Linked DNA regions of Homo sapiens: all the other regions are linked to region 3. The links are contacts of gene promoters, found by promoter capture Hi-C in human tissues and cell types (Jung and others, 2019). All regions are on one chromosome and are shown on one strand. The core of a region is centred on a gene start or on the middle of the fragment in contact, and the rest is flanking DNA. Distances in the headings are between cores, read along the strand shown.

What was found. Contacts are between HindIII fragments. The study calls those that stand out against the background at their distance.
Region 1: a contact is called between a fragment that was not itself captured here and the fragment with the promoter of FBXL14 in region 3, in 1 of the 25 tissues and cell types used here (H1 embryonic stem cells).
Region 2: a fragment that was not itself captured here is called in contact with the fragment with the promoter of FBXL14 in region 3 in 1 of the 25 tissues and cell types used here (dorsolateral prefrontal cortex).
Region 4: a contact is called between a fragment that was not itself captured here and the fragment with the promoter of FBXL14 in region 3, in 2 of the 25 tissues and cell types used here (dorsolateral prefrontal cortex and lymphoblastoid cells).
Region 5: a contact is called between a fragment that was not itself captured here and the fragment with the promoter of FBXL14 in region 3, in 1 of the 25 tissues and cell types used here (heart left ventricle).
Region 6: a contact is called between a fragment that was not itself captured here and the fragment with the promoter of FBXL14 in region 3, in 2 of the 25 tissues and cell types used here (aorta and hippocampus).

The regions. Positions count from the first base shown.
Region 1 is chr12:1,256,618-1,259,317 of GRCh38, forward strand. The region is part of intron 13 of ERC1 (ELKS/RAB6-interacting/CAST family member 1); the gene reads left to right. Among named protein-coding and RNA genes, the nearest start is that of LINC00942, 240 kb to the right of the region's middle. The HindIII fragment of the contact is 7,878 bases long and covers 1-2,700 here.
Region 2 is chr12:1,288,694-1,291,393 of GRCh38, forward strand. It overlaps ERC1 (ELKS/RAB6-interacting/CAST family member 1), which reads left to right. Exons shown (of 19, transcript NM_178040.4): 15 at 1,159-1,319. Among named protein-coding and RNA genes, the nearest start is that of LINC00942, 210 kb to the right of the region's middle. The HindIII fragment of the contact is 6,117 bases long and covers 1-2,700 here.
Region 3 is chr12:1,593,301-1,596,000 of GRCh38, forward strand. FBXL14 (F-box and leucine rich repeat protein 14) reads right to left here and starts at 1,281. Exons shown (of 2, transcript NM_152441.3): 1 at 1-1,281. The coding sequence starts at 766. RefSeq lists enhancers at 356-545, 1,916-1,985 and a silencer at 786-1,655. The HindIII fragment of the contact is 15,118 bases long and covers 1-2,700 here.
Region 4 is chr12:1,153,665-1,156,364 of GRCh38, forward strand. The region is part of intron 8 of ERC1 (ELKS/RAB6-interacting/CAST family member 1); the gene reads left to right. Among named protein-coding and RNA genes, the nearest start is that of ERC1, 160 kb to the left of the region's middle. The HindIII fragment of the contact is 5,020 bases long and covers 1-2,700 here.
Region 5 is chr12:1,233,471-1,236,170 of GRCh38, forward strand. The region is part of intron 12 of ERC1 (ELKS/RAB6-interacting/CAST family member 1); the gene reads left to right. Among named protein-coding and RNA genes, the nearest start is that of ERC1, 240 kb to the left of the region's middle. The HindIII fragment of the contact is 3,512 bases long and covers 1-2,700 here.
Region 6 is chr12:1,316,087-1,318,786 of GRCh38, forward strand. All of the region lies in intron 15 of ERC1 (ELKS/RAB6-interacting/CAST family member 1), which reads left to right. Among named protein-coding and RNA genes, the nearest start is that of LINC00942, 180 kb to the right of the region's middle. The HindIII fragment of the contact is 5,493 bases long and covers 1-2,700 here.

The DNA of each region.
Region 1 (2,700 bases), core at 79-2,578, 340 kb before region 3:
TAATTTATAATCATAGTCACAAGAAAATATTTTATTAGAGTTCAAATCACTTGCAGAGTTTATTCTGAATAATTCCTGACATAATGCATATCTTGCTGGTTTCACATTCAGTGAAATGCTGAGCCATATCTCAATTCTGTAGTCTCCATAATATCTGCCTTTATATTTTAGGTATGTTTGGGTTCCATTTTAATATAGTCTCATACCAACAGCTGTGTTTTTATAATTGAGGTCCTGTTAGCCTAAAAGGCATTTTTCTTGGAGAAGAAATTTTGTCTTCATTGATAATCCAGTTTTGTTATACTGGAGCTACATCCTCAGGTTCTATAATACCCATCCTTCAGTTTGACTCCAAGTCATCCTTACCTCCTGGCGTTCATGCCCTTGTGTAGTCCTCTCCCGCACCCTGTCAGGATTGGTCTGTATGAACCGTACAAGAAGGCAGAAGTGATGGCGCCGGCTTCTGAAGCTACATCACAAAAGATACTGATGCAACTGCCTTGCACTCCTGAATCACTTGCCCTGGTGAGAGCCAGCCTCCGTGTTGTAATGACACTCAAGCAGCCCGGTGGAGAGGAACAGAGGCCTCTTGCCACTAGCTGCACCACCTTGCCAGCCATGTAAGTGGAAGCAAAGGACTGAATCCTGGTTGACATCTTGACTACCACCTCATAAGAGACCCTGGCACCAGAACTGTTTAGCTAAGCTGCTTTTGAGTTCTTGACCCACACAAACTGTGTGAGATAATCAGTATTCACTGTTTTCTTAAGCTGCTAAGTTTCGAAGTAACTCATTAATACAACAATGAACAATGATTACAGATATTTTATATTTTTAGTATTAAGGTGATCTACCATAGTCTGATTTTTCCCCTCTAAATCCACAGTTTGGTTTTCTCTGTTAGAGTAATAAATGCTATTTTAAATTGTTTTATTCATATTATCACCATGGTAATTATCAGGGTTGGGTAACATTGGAGCTTTTGTTGGTGTTTATTACCTATATAACTCATATTTGTCTGCTGACAGCCTGTAAGCTGGGAAAAGAGTTACAAATGTATGTAAAACATGATGTGTCATATAGCCTTTTATAGATTTATTTCCTATGTAAAAAACTGCTCTAACTAGTGCCACATTCTCCAGTAGAAATACAATGTGAGCCACACGTATAATTTTGAATTTTCTAATAGTCTCATTAAAAAAACTAAAAGGAAACATTAATTTTAATAATGTTTTCTTTAATCAAATATATCCAAAATATTATTTCAACATATAATCAATATGAAAATTATTAAAGAAGTGTTGTACCTCCTTTTTTTAAGACTAAGTTTTTGAAATTTAGGTGTGTTTATAGCACATCTCAGTTTGGACTAGCCACGTTTAATCACCCAGTAGCTAGTTGTTGCTAGTGGCTTCTGCATTGGACAGTACAAATAGTATATTAGCTAAAGAAGAATATTTTCTTCTAAGCTAGCGGCAGATTAAGAATGCCTATAAACAACAGGTATGATTTTCTCAAATTAAGTGTGGCATGTCCTATCTTAATCTCTAGCTACATTTAGTTCCAGTAAGTCAACTTCCTAATTTCCAGATGCTTCAGATCCTTCAAACCTAAGGAATATAGGGATAGGAGGAATTAGGGATAGTACATAGTATATGTAGATTTCTTCAGCATTACAGACTCAGAATGGCTCTTACTGTCTCATAGTTTATCATGAAGGTTGGTGAATATGGACTTTTTGAAGGAGAAAATGTACTTTAGCATGTAAAGCATGTATTCCAAGCCTCAGGCTACACATGGTAGAATCACTCTTACACTTGGGCCACCAGGAAGCACTTTCCAGGGGTTTTAGCACATCCCCTTACTTCATCGATGTGGTCCTCAGAGCAGAAGTATGTGAAGTCTGTTGCATTTCATGATTCTCAAGTCTAATATGACATCTTATTGGCTCACTCACTTTCAAGGAAGCTGGTGACAACTGTCACTTCTTCAACTCAAAGTCTGGCATTGACAGATTAGAGATTTTTAAATCTTCAGAATCTTCAGGATTTATGGAAGAACTTACTGTGATAATATTGTCCCTTTTAAAAAATGTTGTTATTTAGAACATCCCATGGTTATCAAAAGACTTGAAAGGAATTTCTTATCATAATTCTGACCCACTTCTGTAAAATATTGCCGTGAAGAAATTCATAGGACTTTTGAATAAAAAGCTGAAGAGCACAATGATGTATAATCCATACATGTTTTGTTCTCTTTACCTTTCTTTTTTCTGATCATGAGCACTGCCTGAAGATGTGTTTGCCTGGTCTGCTTTTCTCTTTTCACAGTAAACAGTTAACTTACATATTTAGATATCAGTTATCTAAACAATGACACTTGTAACTATTTCCAGAAGGTCTTTAGATCCCTATTGATTTCTTCATAGTGCAAGATACTCTTTTAACATATTTTTCAATTTTCTTTTGATTTTATATCAGAACTATGTATTTTATATTATTTACACAAATAATACTTACATGTCTTAGAATAATAGTCACTTCTCTTATTCTTTTCTAACTCTGATTCCTCTTCCTCTGAGATGACCACTTTCATCTCTTTTGGTTGTTTCTACTGTTGTTTATTTTTATCTTTCCAAATGACATTCTTATATTATTGTTGTATTATTTTTCTTATTTGGGCGTTGTCTGTTGACATCTT
Region 2 (2,700 bases), core at 151-2,650, 300 kb before region 3:
GGAGTCAATGAATGGCAAATGCCCCACCTCTACCTGCCCTACCTTCTACTTCTGAAAAGACTGGTTATTACCAAGATTATTTCTTGGCAATTAACAACCTAACATAAAGTCTTGTAATTGATGCAGTTGGCTGTTTGATTACATTTGCTTCTGAATTAAAATGAACAAGTTTATTTAAATAATTCTGATTTGGTAGCCACCTGGAATAAGTGGAAATTACTGATAAAGTACTTACCTTGCTCTCTTAGTTTCTTTTCCTTATGTTTTAGCATTTTGTCTGTCTTCTCTGGTGGCTTTTTGTTTGTTGTTTTTCAGGTCTGTTGCTGTCAAGGCTTTTTTTTTTTCCCCATGTCATTTTTAAAGCATTCTGTCTCCTTTCTATCTGGTATGTACACACACACACACACACACACACACACACACACACACACACACACATAACTATATAGGTATATAGGGATATATTTCCTTCCTGCCTATATAATATATAGTATATATATAATATATATATATACACTGCCTATGTAGTATATAGGTATATATATGCCTGTATAGTTATATAGGTATATAGGGTTATATTTCCTTCCTGCCTTCCTTAAAAAAGAAACCCTACCTACCTGGATTTAGAGCAAGAAATTGTCTGATTGAATTCTAGCAGTTTCTTTAAAAAGAAATTCTTCTTAATGATGTAAATAGGAAAATTTTAGTTTAGAGGACTAAAAATTATTCGTCTATGTATACAGGAAATCTGTTATTTGCCAAGTTTATGTCTTTTATTTCCTAAAATCGTTCTGTATATTTTTTTATATTTGTATTGTATTATTTCCATGGAAATTTCTGGGTCATTTCCAAAGAACTTCCTTAAAAGGTATTGTCTGTGGCAGCGTGCGACTTCTTAAACTGATAACTTGTATGCCCTTGCATGTATTAAGTTCTTTCTGACCTAAGCTGAAAAGAATTATACTGTAGGGATGTTATTATCTGCTATATTGATTCTTGATATATACACACACATAACTGATCCAGAAAGAGTACAGAATTTTCAATGTGTTCCTGCGTCTCTTCAATTTTCTGGACCCAGGAGTTGCGTGTTACCCAGGTCCTCTGACTCTGATTGATCAAGACACTCTGTTGTTCTCTTTCCCATATTTATGATAGGTGGAGGAGTTACTGATGGCCATGGAGAAGGTAAAGCAGGAACTAGAATCCATGAAAGCAAAGCTGTCCTCCACCCAGCAGTCTCTGGCAGAAAAGGAAACTCACTTGACTAATCTTCGGGCAGAGAGAAGGAAACACTTAGAGGAAGTTCTGGAGATGAAGTAAGTGTTTGTAGTCTTATTCTTCAAGCATATGCTTAGTGGAAATACTTTTTCTCCCTGCATTCATCTTCTGGCTCTGTGTTTTACCCCAATACACTTACTTAATTTTAGTGCTAACTTGTATTTCTCACTCTCTAGAATAAATTTGGTCAAAGGTGGAACAAATCCTGATCAAATAGAAATATTTTTGGTTCCTCTTTAATGATTTTTAAATCCTCTGGCTTATACATATCTGTGTGTAATTACCTCTCTGAAATTCCTAAAATCTTCTGGAAAGTTCAGGCAAAATGGCGAGCTTACTGGGGAAGAGGGCTGTTGGTTCTGAGGTTGTATGAAGACTAGGCAATTTTTAAACACATTTTTTATTGTAAACATTTCCAAAGGTACACACAGGTAGAGAGAATGAACCCCCATATACCTGTCTCCAAGATTCAGTAGTTACCATTTTGCCACACTGGAAGCCAATTTTTAGAAAATTGTCACTTTTAGCAGAGCTTTGCTATACACATTTTCCTGCTTCCCCCACATTTTGTAGGTTGCTGAGACCATAATCTGTTGTGAAGCATGTATACATCTGCTAATACATAGTAGATGTTTCTTTTACTTCTCAGTGACCTTCTGTTTAAAACAAACATGTGTCTTTTGAAAATCCAGTTGTACCCTCTCATTTACCATTCCTAATCCTTCCCCTTACCTAAAGACCCTACTGCTATTTTACTGAAACCAGGTCTATCCTGGGATCCCTCAGTTACCCTCAGTTACCCTCGTTCTGTGAGCAGTTATCTTTATTTTTGTTGTCTTCTTTTCTGTCTCAGAGAATAGGTTTTTTTCTCCTTCATAAGGCCAGATTCTTCTTTCTGTCACAGATTTCAAGTCCCCGCCTCAGCAGCCTTTCACTGTCAGTTCTTTCTCACGTGACCCTTGCTCACTTCTTCTCTGCATAAATGCACAGTCTGTCTTTGGCCTAAAATAAAATTTTTTCACTCCAACTAGTGCTTTAAACTGACATCAGTTTACTTTTCTGCTACTTTGAACTATCAGTAAACTTTGAATACCTGAATAATAGAGCTGTACAGAATCTTGCCATAATACCTTAGCATGAATTCTCATGGGACATGATGATTGTGATATTGTGACTGCAACCCAAGAATGTTGAGGTGTCCTCTGTGCTTTCACGTTCTTGGGCTATAGTGCAAGGCTACGAGATTCTGTCCTTTTAGAAAAGCATTATGAGTGATATGTCTTGGAAGTAATGTGTAAGTGAAGCCGGAAGTGGATTGGCATAGGGGGAGAATTAAGAGAGGTTAGAGTTCCGAGTAGCATCATCAGAAAAAAGCTTGCAGGTTTAAGTAGAGAAAGGAAAGTCCTCCCTGTGACTGTT
Region 3 (2,700 bases), core at 31-2,530:
GCAGGCTGCCCATGTGCGACAGGTGCAGGAGGCCAGCGTCCGAGATTCCCCCACAGAAGCTGAGGTTGAGGAGCCTCAGGCCCGTCAGCCCTCGGGAGATGTGCTTTAGAGAAAGATCTGTGAGCTTCTGGCAGTCCTGTAGCGTGAGCTGCTCCAGGCCCAGGCAGCCCTCCGCCGCGCTGCGCGTCATGCCGGCCAGGTGCCCGATGCCCACATCCGAAAGGTGGCGGCAGCTGCGGAGGTTAAGGCTCTTGAGGCGCTGCAGACCCCAGGCGATGAGCAGAAGGCCAGTGTTGGTGATGTTGCTGCAACCTCCCAGCTCCAGCACCTCCAGGCCCTTGAGGTACTGGGCTATGCGGCCCAGGCTGCTGTCAGTGATCTGCTTGCAGAGGCTCAGGTTGAGAGCGCGCAGGGAGCCGATCTCCTGCACAAACGCGTGGCCCAGCCCGTTGTCGGTGAGGTTGTAGCAGCCGCTGAGGTTGAGGCTCTCGATGTTGGCCATGCCCTGGATCACGTAGCTGAGGCTGCGGCGGAGGCTCAGGATCTGCACCCGGCGGATGCCCCGGGCCTGCAGGCTGGGGAACAGCGACGGGTTGGCCCGGCGCAGGTGCAGCTTGGCCTCCACCCCCCGCCACACCGACTTGTGGTAGGCGGCGTCCCGCCAGGCGGTGCACACCTGCGCCGCGCGCCCCTTGTCCCGGACGTCCAGGTAGCCGAAGATCATGGCCAGCAGCTCCGGGAACAGGCATGAGATGTGGGTCTCCATCTTCCTCCTCCCCCCTCCGCGGCGCTGGGGGGAGGAGGCGCGGGCCCCGCCGCTCCGGCCTCGGGCAGGCGACGAGAGCGCTTCTCCCCAGCCGCCGCCGCCGCCGCCGCCGCCGCCTCGGGCCCAACGGCCGGCCCCTCCCCGCCTTCCGGCTCCGGCCGCCGCCGCCGCTCCTCCTCCTGGTCCGTCCGTCCTTCCTTCCTGCCGGCTGCGCCTCCGGCCCGGCCCTCCCCCGCCCCGGGCTCCGCACGGCGCTCACATCCCGGGCGGGGAAGGCGCCTCGCTCTCGCTCCCGGAGGCCGGCCGCCGCCGCCGCCTCGGCTCTACCCACGCCGCGCCCGGGCCGCGCCGCTCCGCCCGCGCCGCCGCGCCCACGCCCCCTGCCGCATCCTCCGCCTCCTGCCGCCGCCGCTGCTCCGCGGGCCGGCGGGCGGCGAGGGGGCCCCGGGGGCCGGGCGCACGGGCTCCGGGCGCGGAGGAGGCTTCCTGCTGCCTTTGTCTCTCGCCCGCTTTTCAAACCTCCCAGCCCCGGGCCGCCCGCACTCCGCCGCCCAGGCGGGGGGACCAGGAGGCCAATCCCGGCCGGCGGCGTGCGTTCCTTCTCCCCCGCCGTCCGCGGCCACTTGGGAGCTGCCGGCCCCCGCACCAAGGACGCCGCGGCCGTCCGGCCGGAGCGCGGCTCGGCGCAGACCCCGGGCGAGCAGGCGGGCCGTGCGTTTGGTAGCGCCCGGGCCGGCCCCGGCTCCGCCGCCCTGCAGCGCGTCCCCTCCGCCGCTCCCGCTCCCCCGCGCCCGCGCAATGGTACGGGCCTGCGCTGCCGGAACTGTGGAGCCGTTGCCCTGGAAACCGAGTTCGGCCTGGTCCCGTGGCCCCTGATTTTTAACCCTGTGGGCGCCACGGGGGAGCGGCAGCTGTCAGCAGAGCGCCTCCCCACCCGGCTTCTTTTCACCCGGTAGCCCGTTATTGAGCCGTTCCCTCTCTGGGCCACGCCCCAGCCCCGTTCCTTCTTTTTCTTTGCTGTTGAAGTCTGCGCAGCCCCTTCCCACAGTTTACCCCTGCAATTCGTTACCCTTATTTCACACCCCTCTCCCTTGATTATCCCTGCGAGAGCCGCCTCCTATAGCAGTGCTCAATAATCGTCACCCCAACTCTCCTTTTCTTACTGTCCCTAATGCCCCTTAACGCCTCATTATCACACCCCCTGCTCCCCCGGTTGGGGCTGTTTACTACGACGCCTTTCTCTCCAGTCTTGTGTCTTAAATTGGAGAGAAACTCGGCTGTACTCATCTTAAACAATGACCCCCTCCAGTCGGTGTTCTAGAAATTTCTAGAATTATCCATGACTACTTCCTTCTAGCATCTTCTGATGGTTTCCAGACACGCTGTGTGTGTTTCCCTCGGTACTTGATACATCAAAACTTCCCTCTACTTCTGAACGCTGCTGCGCCACCAATGCCCTCAGTCCGCTTTGCTTACAGGGGAACAGCCTTCCCCTAAGCCTTGTTTTAGGAGCTTTCTCCTTGTCATCAGCCTTAGACTATCAGTTGTATGGCTCAGTTGTACTGATAGTCAATATATTCGTATATGCTGAATCCAATTTACTTTTTGATTAAAATGGAATGACAGTTGAACTTGGTTTAAGACAATCCAGTCGTGTCTGTTGGTTTATCAACCGTTTTATGGAAGCAGGGCACAATTCCATTCTAGGATGTAGCCCCTGGGTCCTAAATGTCCGTACTAAGGATAGAATTTCAGAAGTTTCATTTTAACTACCCCCAAACCAAGAATTTTTGGATCAGAGAAAATGATCCTCTGTATTTTAATTTATGGATCCACACAACTAGATACAAGACCAGCGGATTTATCAGAAAGGGAAAATGGTTTCATTGATTCTTTGAGGACCTGAACAAGATTTGGAAGGGGTTCCATATTCA
Region 4 (2,700 bases), core at 32-2,531, 440 kb before region 3:
CTCGGAGAAGGGAAAACAAACGGATCACTGTGAGTTTGCCAAGCGGGGCAGGTGTTCGAAGCCCCTCCCTGGCCGTGCGTGTGGAATGCTGGGCTTGCCCTCCTGGGCCCTCCTTTCTTCACATGGTCGGATTTTGGCCTACATAATCACAGGCCCCAGCCCTGCGCCTTCCCCTGGCCCTTTCCCTTCCTGCACTTTTGGGATACTCCATTTCTTTTTTTGTTAATTAATAACTTTATTCGTTTGGAGTAGTTTGGGAAGTTCCCAAGTGTACCTGAATAATGTACATTGTATTCAATAGGTAATTTTTCATTTCTCCCCTGCCTGCCTCCCCCTGCTCTGAGTCTCTAGTGTCCGTTATACCACTCTGTATGCCTTTGGGTACTCAGCACTGCCTCCCTCTTATGAGTGAGAACATGCAGTATTTGGTTTTCCATTCCTGAGTTACTTCACTTAGGATGATGGCCTCCAGTTCCATCCAGGTTGCTGCAAAAGACATGATTTCATTCTTTTTTTCATGGCCGAGTAGTATTCCATGGTGTGTGTGTGTATGTATATGTATATGTATATGTATATGTATATGTATATGTATATGTGTATATATACACATATACATGTATATATACACACACACGTGCATATATATGTGTGTGTGTATATATATATACACACATACCCATGTGTGTTTATACACACACACACACACACACACACACACTTTCTGTCTCTTGCCATATACAAAAATTAACCTAGGTGGATTAAAGACTTAATCTAAGACCCGAAACCATAAAAATTCTGGAAGATAACACAGGGAAAACTCCTCTGAACATTGGCTCAGGCGAAGGATTTATGACAAGGATCTCAAAAGCACAACAAAATAAAAATGAATAAATGGGACTTAATGGACTTAATTAAACTAAAAAGCTTCTGTACAGCAAAATAAATAATCAAAAGAGTAAATAGACCACCTACAGAATGGGAGAAAATATTTGCATCATATTCAACAAAATATTAATATCCACAGTCTACAAGGAACTTAAATCAACAAGAAAAAAAAATAATCCCATAAAAAATGGGCAAATAGCATGAATAGACATTTCTCAAAAGAAGATATACAAATGCCCAAAAATGTATGAAAAAATGCTCAGCATCACTAATCATCAGGGAAATGCAAATTAAAATGACAGTGAGATACCACCCTACCCCATCCAGAAGGGCTATTATTAAAAAGTTAAAAAATAATAGCTGGTATCATGGATGTGGTGAAAAGAGAACTCTTACACACTGTTGGAGCAAACGTAAATTAGTACAACCTTTATGGAAAACTGTATGGATATTTTTCAAAGAACTAAAAGTACATTTATCATTTCAGGCTGGGCGTAGTGGCTCACACCTGTAGTCCCAGCACTTAGGGAGGCCGAGGCAGATGGATCACCTGTGGTCAGGAGTTCAAGACAAACCTGGCAACATGGCCAACGTGGCGAAACCCCATATCTACTAAAAATAAAAAAATCTGATGGGCATATTGGTACGTGCCTGTAGTCTCAGCTACTTGGGAGGCTGAGACACGAGAATTGCTTGGACCTGGGAGGCAGAGGTTGCAGTGAGCCTGGATCGTGCCACTGCACTCACAGGGCGAGACTTCATCTCAAAAAAAAAAAAAAAAAAAAAAAAGATTTATCATTTCATCCAGCAGTCCCACTACTAGGAGTCTACCCAAAGGAAAAGAAGTCATTCTGAAAAAAAAGACATCTATGATATGGAATCAACCTAAGTGCCCATCAACCAATGAATGGATAAAGAAAATTAAACTTTCCTTTTTTTTTTTTGAGACGGAGTCTCGCTCTGTCGCCCAGGCTGGATTGCAGTGGCGCCATCTCGGCTCACTGCAAGCTCCACCTCCCTGGGTTCACACCATTCTCCTGCCTCAGCTTCCTGAGTAGCTGGGACCACAGGCACGTGCCACCACGCCCGGCTAATTTTTTGTATTTTTAGTAGAGACGGGGTTTCACCATGTTAGGTGGTCTCGATTTCCTGACCTCGTGATCTGCCTGCCTCAGCCTCCCAAAGTGCTGGGATTACAGGCGTGAGCCACCGCGCCCTGCTGATAAGTATTTTTTTAAAAGCCCTGAGAAATGACAATGTAGGATTTAAAAAATGACTTGTATTAACAGTATGAGAGTAATATGTGTTCAAGGTAAAAAAAAAATAAATAAATAAAAATAAAAATTACCAAAACATATGGAGTGAAATTAAAGTTCCTTCTCCCATCCTTTGCTCCTCTCAGTGCAGTTCTTTAGGGTTATTAACTGTTGTTAACAGTTCTTTGTGTGCCGTTTCATAAAGTTTCTATGCATATCAAGCATTTATGTGTTATATACCTTTTAAAAAACAACTGGAATCATACTTTTTATTAATTTAAAAATAAACATTTTAATATCATCTTATATACAGCTTTATCTCATCTTAAAAAATATCTACATGGTTTTCTGAATCATACTTCTACCATAATTTAACTAAATTTAACCTAAGATTTACAGGTAGATGAAGATAGGGGTTTTTCTTATTTTATTTTATTTATTTTATTTTTTTGAGACAGAGTCTCACTCTGTCGCCCAGGCTGGAGTGCAGTGGTGCAATCTTAGCTCACTACGGCCTCTGCCTCCCAGGTTCAAACAGTTCTCTCCTGCCTCAGCCCCC
Region 5 (2,700 bases), core at 92-2,591, 360 kb before region 3:
AAAAAAAAAAAAAAAAAAAAAAAGAGTAAGAAAACCAGACATTATATTATATGCTGTCAGATGTGAGGCAATGTCAGTTATACAACACCATTAATTATTATTTTTACCTAAAAATGAAAATTGAATATATTCAAGTCTTTAAAGCTAATATTCAGTATCAAAACAAACAAAAAGCAAGAGATATAGAGAAACAAGTTGAATTTCATCATGAAGAAGCAAACATACAATCCAGAATGTGAGTCGTTGTATGGAATAATTGATTTCCTTTTTAAAAAAATCACTGGCATTCAAAAAGGGTACATTGGAGGAGGTAAGAGACTTTTCTCTAGATTAGTAGGGATTTGAAGGATCTGACAATAAGCACAATGTATGGGCGTTTTTTGTATTTTGATTCAAATAAAGTAGCCGTAAGAAATAAACTTTGATTCAAATGGGGAAATTTGAATATGGACTATATATTATACTGATATTGAGGAATTGTTAATTTTGTTACAATTTACGTTGTTAAACATGCTCTTTTTTGGAGATGCATCAGGAAGCATGTATAAGGGTATAATGACATGATATCTGGAATTTTAAATGATGGCAAAACGTATAATGTACATAGAAATAAAATATATACACATTTTTTATGGAGGAAAATATAATGCTTTGTTAGCCTTTTAAGGAGACCTAAACAAATAGATAAACACACTGACCAGTTTTCAACCTAACGATAGTGCAAAAGTGATACACGTTCAGTAAAACCACACTTTGAATTTTGATCTTTTCCTGTGCTATTGGTATGTAATATGATACTCTCTTGTGATGCTGGACAGTGGCAGTGAGCCACAGATCCCAGTTAGCCACACAACCAGGAGAGTAAACAACTGCTACTTTCCAGATTAGGTGTTTTAAATGCATTTTGGACTTAGGATATTTTCAACTTATGGTGGGTTTATTGGGATATAGCCCAATGGTAAGTTGAGGAGCATCTGTAGTATGTTAATGAATTGAAAGATCCAAAAGCATGAAGTTTTTCCCAAACTGACATTGCTTCAATGTGATTGGAATCAAAATCCCAGAGGCTGCTGTTGGGTTTTTTGTTGCTGTAGTTGGTTGGTTGGTTTGGTGGAACTTGACGGGCTAGTTCTGAAATTTCTATGAGAAGCGTAAAGCGCCAAGAACAGCCAAGAGAGTTTTGAAGAAGAAAAAGGTAGGGAGCCTTGCCTTGCTAATTACTTTTTGTAAAGGTATAGTAATTAAGGTGGTATAGATCTGGCACAGAAATATACAAACATAGCCACAAAACAGGTACACATGCATATAGAAACTTTGTACACACCAGAAGTGGCAATGCATGTAAATATTCCTGGGAAAATTCATTATAAATACATGTAAAAAATGAAATATTATTATGTTATACCAAACCCCCCAAAATGGAAGTATGTTTTTACCTCATAACATATGCAACCTCGGTTTCAGATGGATTAATGACTGCAACGTGAAAGACAAAGTTAACGTCGTTTTAGGGGAATATCTTTATGAACTTTGATGGACAAGATTTTGTGGAAATGTCACAAAATTGTATATTATAAAGGAGAAGATTGATACATTTGAAACAATTAAAAGTTTTAGGCTGGACATGGTGACTCATGCCTGTAATCCCAACACTGGGAGGCAGAGGCCAGTGGATTGCTTGAGTCCAGGAGTTCAAGACCAGCATAGGCAACATAGTGAAACCTCATCTCTACTACAAATTAGCTGGGTGTGGTGGCATGTGCCTGTAATTCCAGCTGTTCAGGAGGCTGAGGTGGGAGAATCACCTGAGCCTGGGGGGTCAAGGCTGCAGTGAGCGGAGATTGTGCCACTGCACACTAGCCTTGGCGACTGAGTGAGATCCCATCTCGGAAGAAAAATAAAATTGAATTCTATCGATGAAAAGATGTAAAGAAATCATAGACTAGAAGAAAATACTTACATAACATATAACGGATAAAGTATTATTATCTATAATGTATAAAGAATACCTATAAGTCATTAAGAAAAAGATATGTTAATTTAAAAAGTGGAGAAAGACACAAATAGCTATTTCACAGAAGTGGAAACAGGAATGGCCAAATACTGTATGATAAGATATTCAGCCTAGGTGGTTAGAAACATGCATTGTAAAACTATAATGAGGTACTATTTTTTTTCTACCCTATTGGAAACATTTAGAAAGTCAGTACCATGTATTAATGGATGTGGAGAGGTATAATGGCCAACAGTTGTGCACAGCTAGCAAGAGTATAAATTAATATAGCTTCTTGGAAAATAAAATAAAATAAGGTGTACCTACTGTATTTCCTAGCAATTCAGTTCCTAGGCCTATACCTTAGAGATATTCCTGCCCAGGTATATCAGAGTGCACCTAGCAGCATTATTTAAAATGGCAAGAAGATGGAAACAATGCAATTGTCATCTTCTGGGGAGTAGATTAAAGTAATTGCCATATATTATTTCATACCTCAGTGAAAGTGGAGAAGATTAAAAGATACATTACACTCTGAATGGTCTAAGTCTCGAAACCTATTGAAAGGGAATAATATTGAATATCATTCTGTACTAAAAAGAAAAATGAATAATTATTTATCTTTATAAAGCTCAAAAACATGTAAACTATAAATGAACAGTTCATATATATATATGTAGCAAAACAATAATAAAAGCAAAGGGATT
Region 6 (2,700 bases), core at 94-2,593, 280 kb before region 3:
ACCGTGTTAGGCAGATGGTCTTGATCTCCTGACCTCGTGATCCACCCGCCTCGGCCTCCCAAAGTGCTGGGATTACTGGCTTGAGCCACCGCGCCCGGCTGGTAAACATCTTTTTATAGCTAATGGGCACTTTTAGGCTAACTGAGCAGTGAACACTATTAAATATATGAGAAGCTTTTTAAACCACCTTCCACTTAATTCATAACTACTTGTCAGGTTGAGACTTTCTTTTCTCTGTTAACCATGCCAATTTTTGCTCAGAGCATGCTGAAAAAGCTACTAGATTACTGTCACATATACCAGGCATGGCTCTGTTAACCTGTTTAGTTGTATTATTGCTGAAAAGTTATTTATTCCAGCTATTCTTGATATTTTAATTATATATTTTTATTATTATAAGAAACCAATGACATACTCATATGAAAAAATATCTCTGTGAAATAAAGCAAAATGTTTTGGAAAAGGGATGCAGGTAAGTCATTTCAAAATTGCTGTTGTTAATGCGGGAGAGGATTTGGAAAAATAGGAACGCTTTTATACTGTTGGTGGGAGTGTAAATTAGTTCAACCATTGTGGAAGACACTGTGGCGATTCCTCAAGGATCTAGAACCAGAAATACCATTTGACCCAGCAATCCCATTACTGGATATATACCCAAAGGATTATAAATCATGCTGCTATAAAGACACATGCACACGTATGTTTATTGCAGCACTGTTCACAATAGCAAAGACTTGGAACCAAACCAAATGCCCATCAATGATAGACTGGATAAAGAAAATGTGGCACGTGGCCAGGCATGGCGGCTCATGCCTGTAATCCCAGCACTTTGGGAGGCCGAGGCGGGTGGATCACCTGAGGTCAGGAGTTCAAGACCAGCCTGGCCAACATGGTGAAACCCCATCTCTACTAAAAATACCAAAAATTAGCTGGGTGTAGTGGCAGGCACCTGTAATCCCAGCTACTCAGGAGGCTGAGACAGGAGAATCGCTTGAATCCAGGAGGCAGAGGTTGCAGTGAGCCGAGGTCATGCCATTGCACTCCACCCTGGGCAACAAGAGAGAAACTCTGTCTCAAAAACGAAAAAAAAAAAAAAAGAAAATGTGTAACATATACACCATGGAATACTATGCAGCCATAAAAAAGGATGAGTTCATGTCCTTTGCAGGGACATGGATGAAGCTGGAAACCATCATTCTCAGCAAACTAACACAGGAACAGAAAACCAAACACCGCATGTTCTCACTCATAAGTGGGAGCTGAACCGTGAGAACACATGGACACAGGGAGGGGAACATCACACACGGCCTGTCGGGGGATCAGGGGCTAGGAAAGGGATAGCATTAGGAGAAATACCTAATGTAGATGATGGGTTGATGGGTGCAGCAAACCACCATGGCACATGTATACCTATGTAACAAACCTGCACGTTCTGCACGTGTATCCCAGAACTTAAAGTATAATTTTAAAAAAAGTAAATCCAAAAAAAAATTGCTGCTGTTGAATTAGGTTAACAGTTACTGAATATTGGGAGACTTTTTGAAACCTCACAGTTTGAAATTGGCATTGTATTTCAAATGTCTGCATACTGACTAGCCCCACTTTCACACAACCAGAGCTGAAAAGGATGTGAAAAAGACAATACTGAACCTAAGTCATCAGATTATATGGTGATCTTTGGATCTCGTCTAAATGAAAAACCAGCAAAGCAGCTTCAAAGCAGCAAAACACTCTCTATATACTTTCTTTATTCTTTAAGAAATATTTTAGTTAATCACCTAGCAGACTTGAGTGTCACATAAAGGGGCTTCTTCTATAGTTTCTCATAAATAATTTGCTGATTCTGGGAACTCTAAAAGGTAAATATTTTATGTAGCATGTGTATATTGTAAATTATTTATAAAAATGTTTTAAAAGACCTAATCCTGAAATAGTAAATAACTAAAAATTTACAAATACTATTCTCAAATAGTAAATAAGTATATATGAGCTTTCAAGTTAGAACTAAAATTTCCATGATGTGATATCTATTTTAAGATTTGTTTATCAAGGAATATTGTAATTTGGGAGGATTTTTTAAAAGCAGATTTTATTTTTTCTGCCCTTCACAAAAACTAAATCTGAGCCTTGGGAAATCAGGGCAGCTGCATCATGATGTGACTTGCCTGGGGTTTGGTATTTTGCTGAGATACCTGCCAGTTGGAATTAGAACCCTATGGGTATAACTAGGGTAGACTTAATTATTGGCTTACTGTATTTAAATCAAAATGAAAAGCTCATACAAAATTTTGTACCCGTACTCTGAAAAAATGTGGAACTGTTTTTGGACTAAAATTTTATAGCTTTTGTGGCTAATGAGGCATGAAATAAATTGGCAAGCTCAAACTGTTCGGAGTACAGTGGTACAGTGTGCATTTTCTAATTCCCAGCCCTTGGGATTCCAGCAAAGGTCACAAATTAAACAAAGTCAGGATTAATCAAGACTATAATCAAATAAAACTCAATCATTAATCCTCTTCTGACTTACAATAGAGTGATTGTGTAATTGTGTGAGAAGCACTGGAGAGGGCTCTTTTGTAGTGCGTAGGAAAATCAACATTAAGGTGTCAGACAGAAAAGTGAAACCCTGCAGGTGAAGCTGTCTCTGGAGCCAAGAGAAACTGGCAATTTATGCAGAGTTGCAAGTGAAGCTTTGGAGCA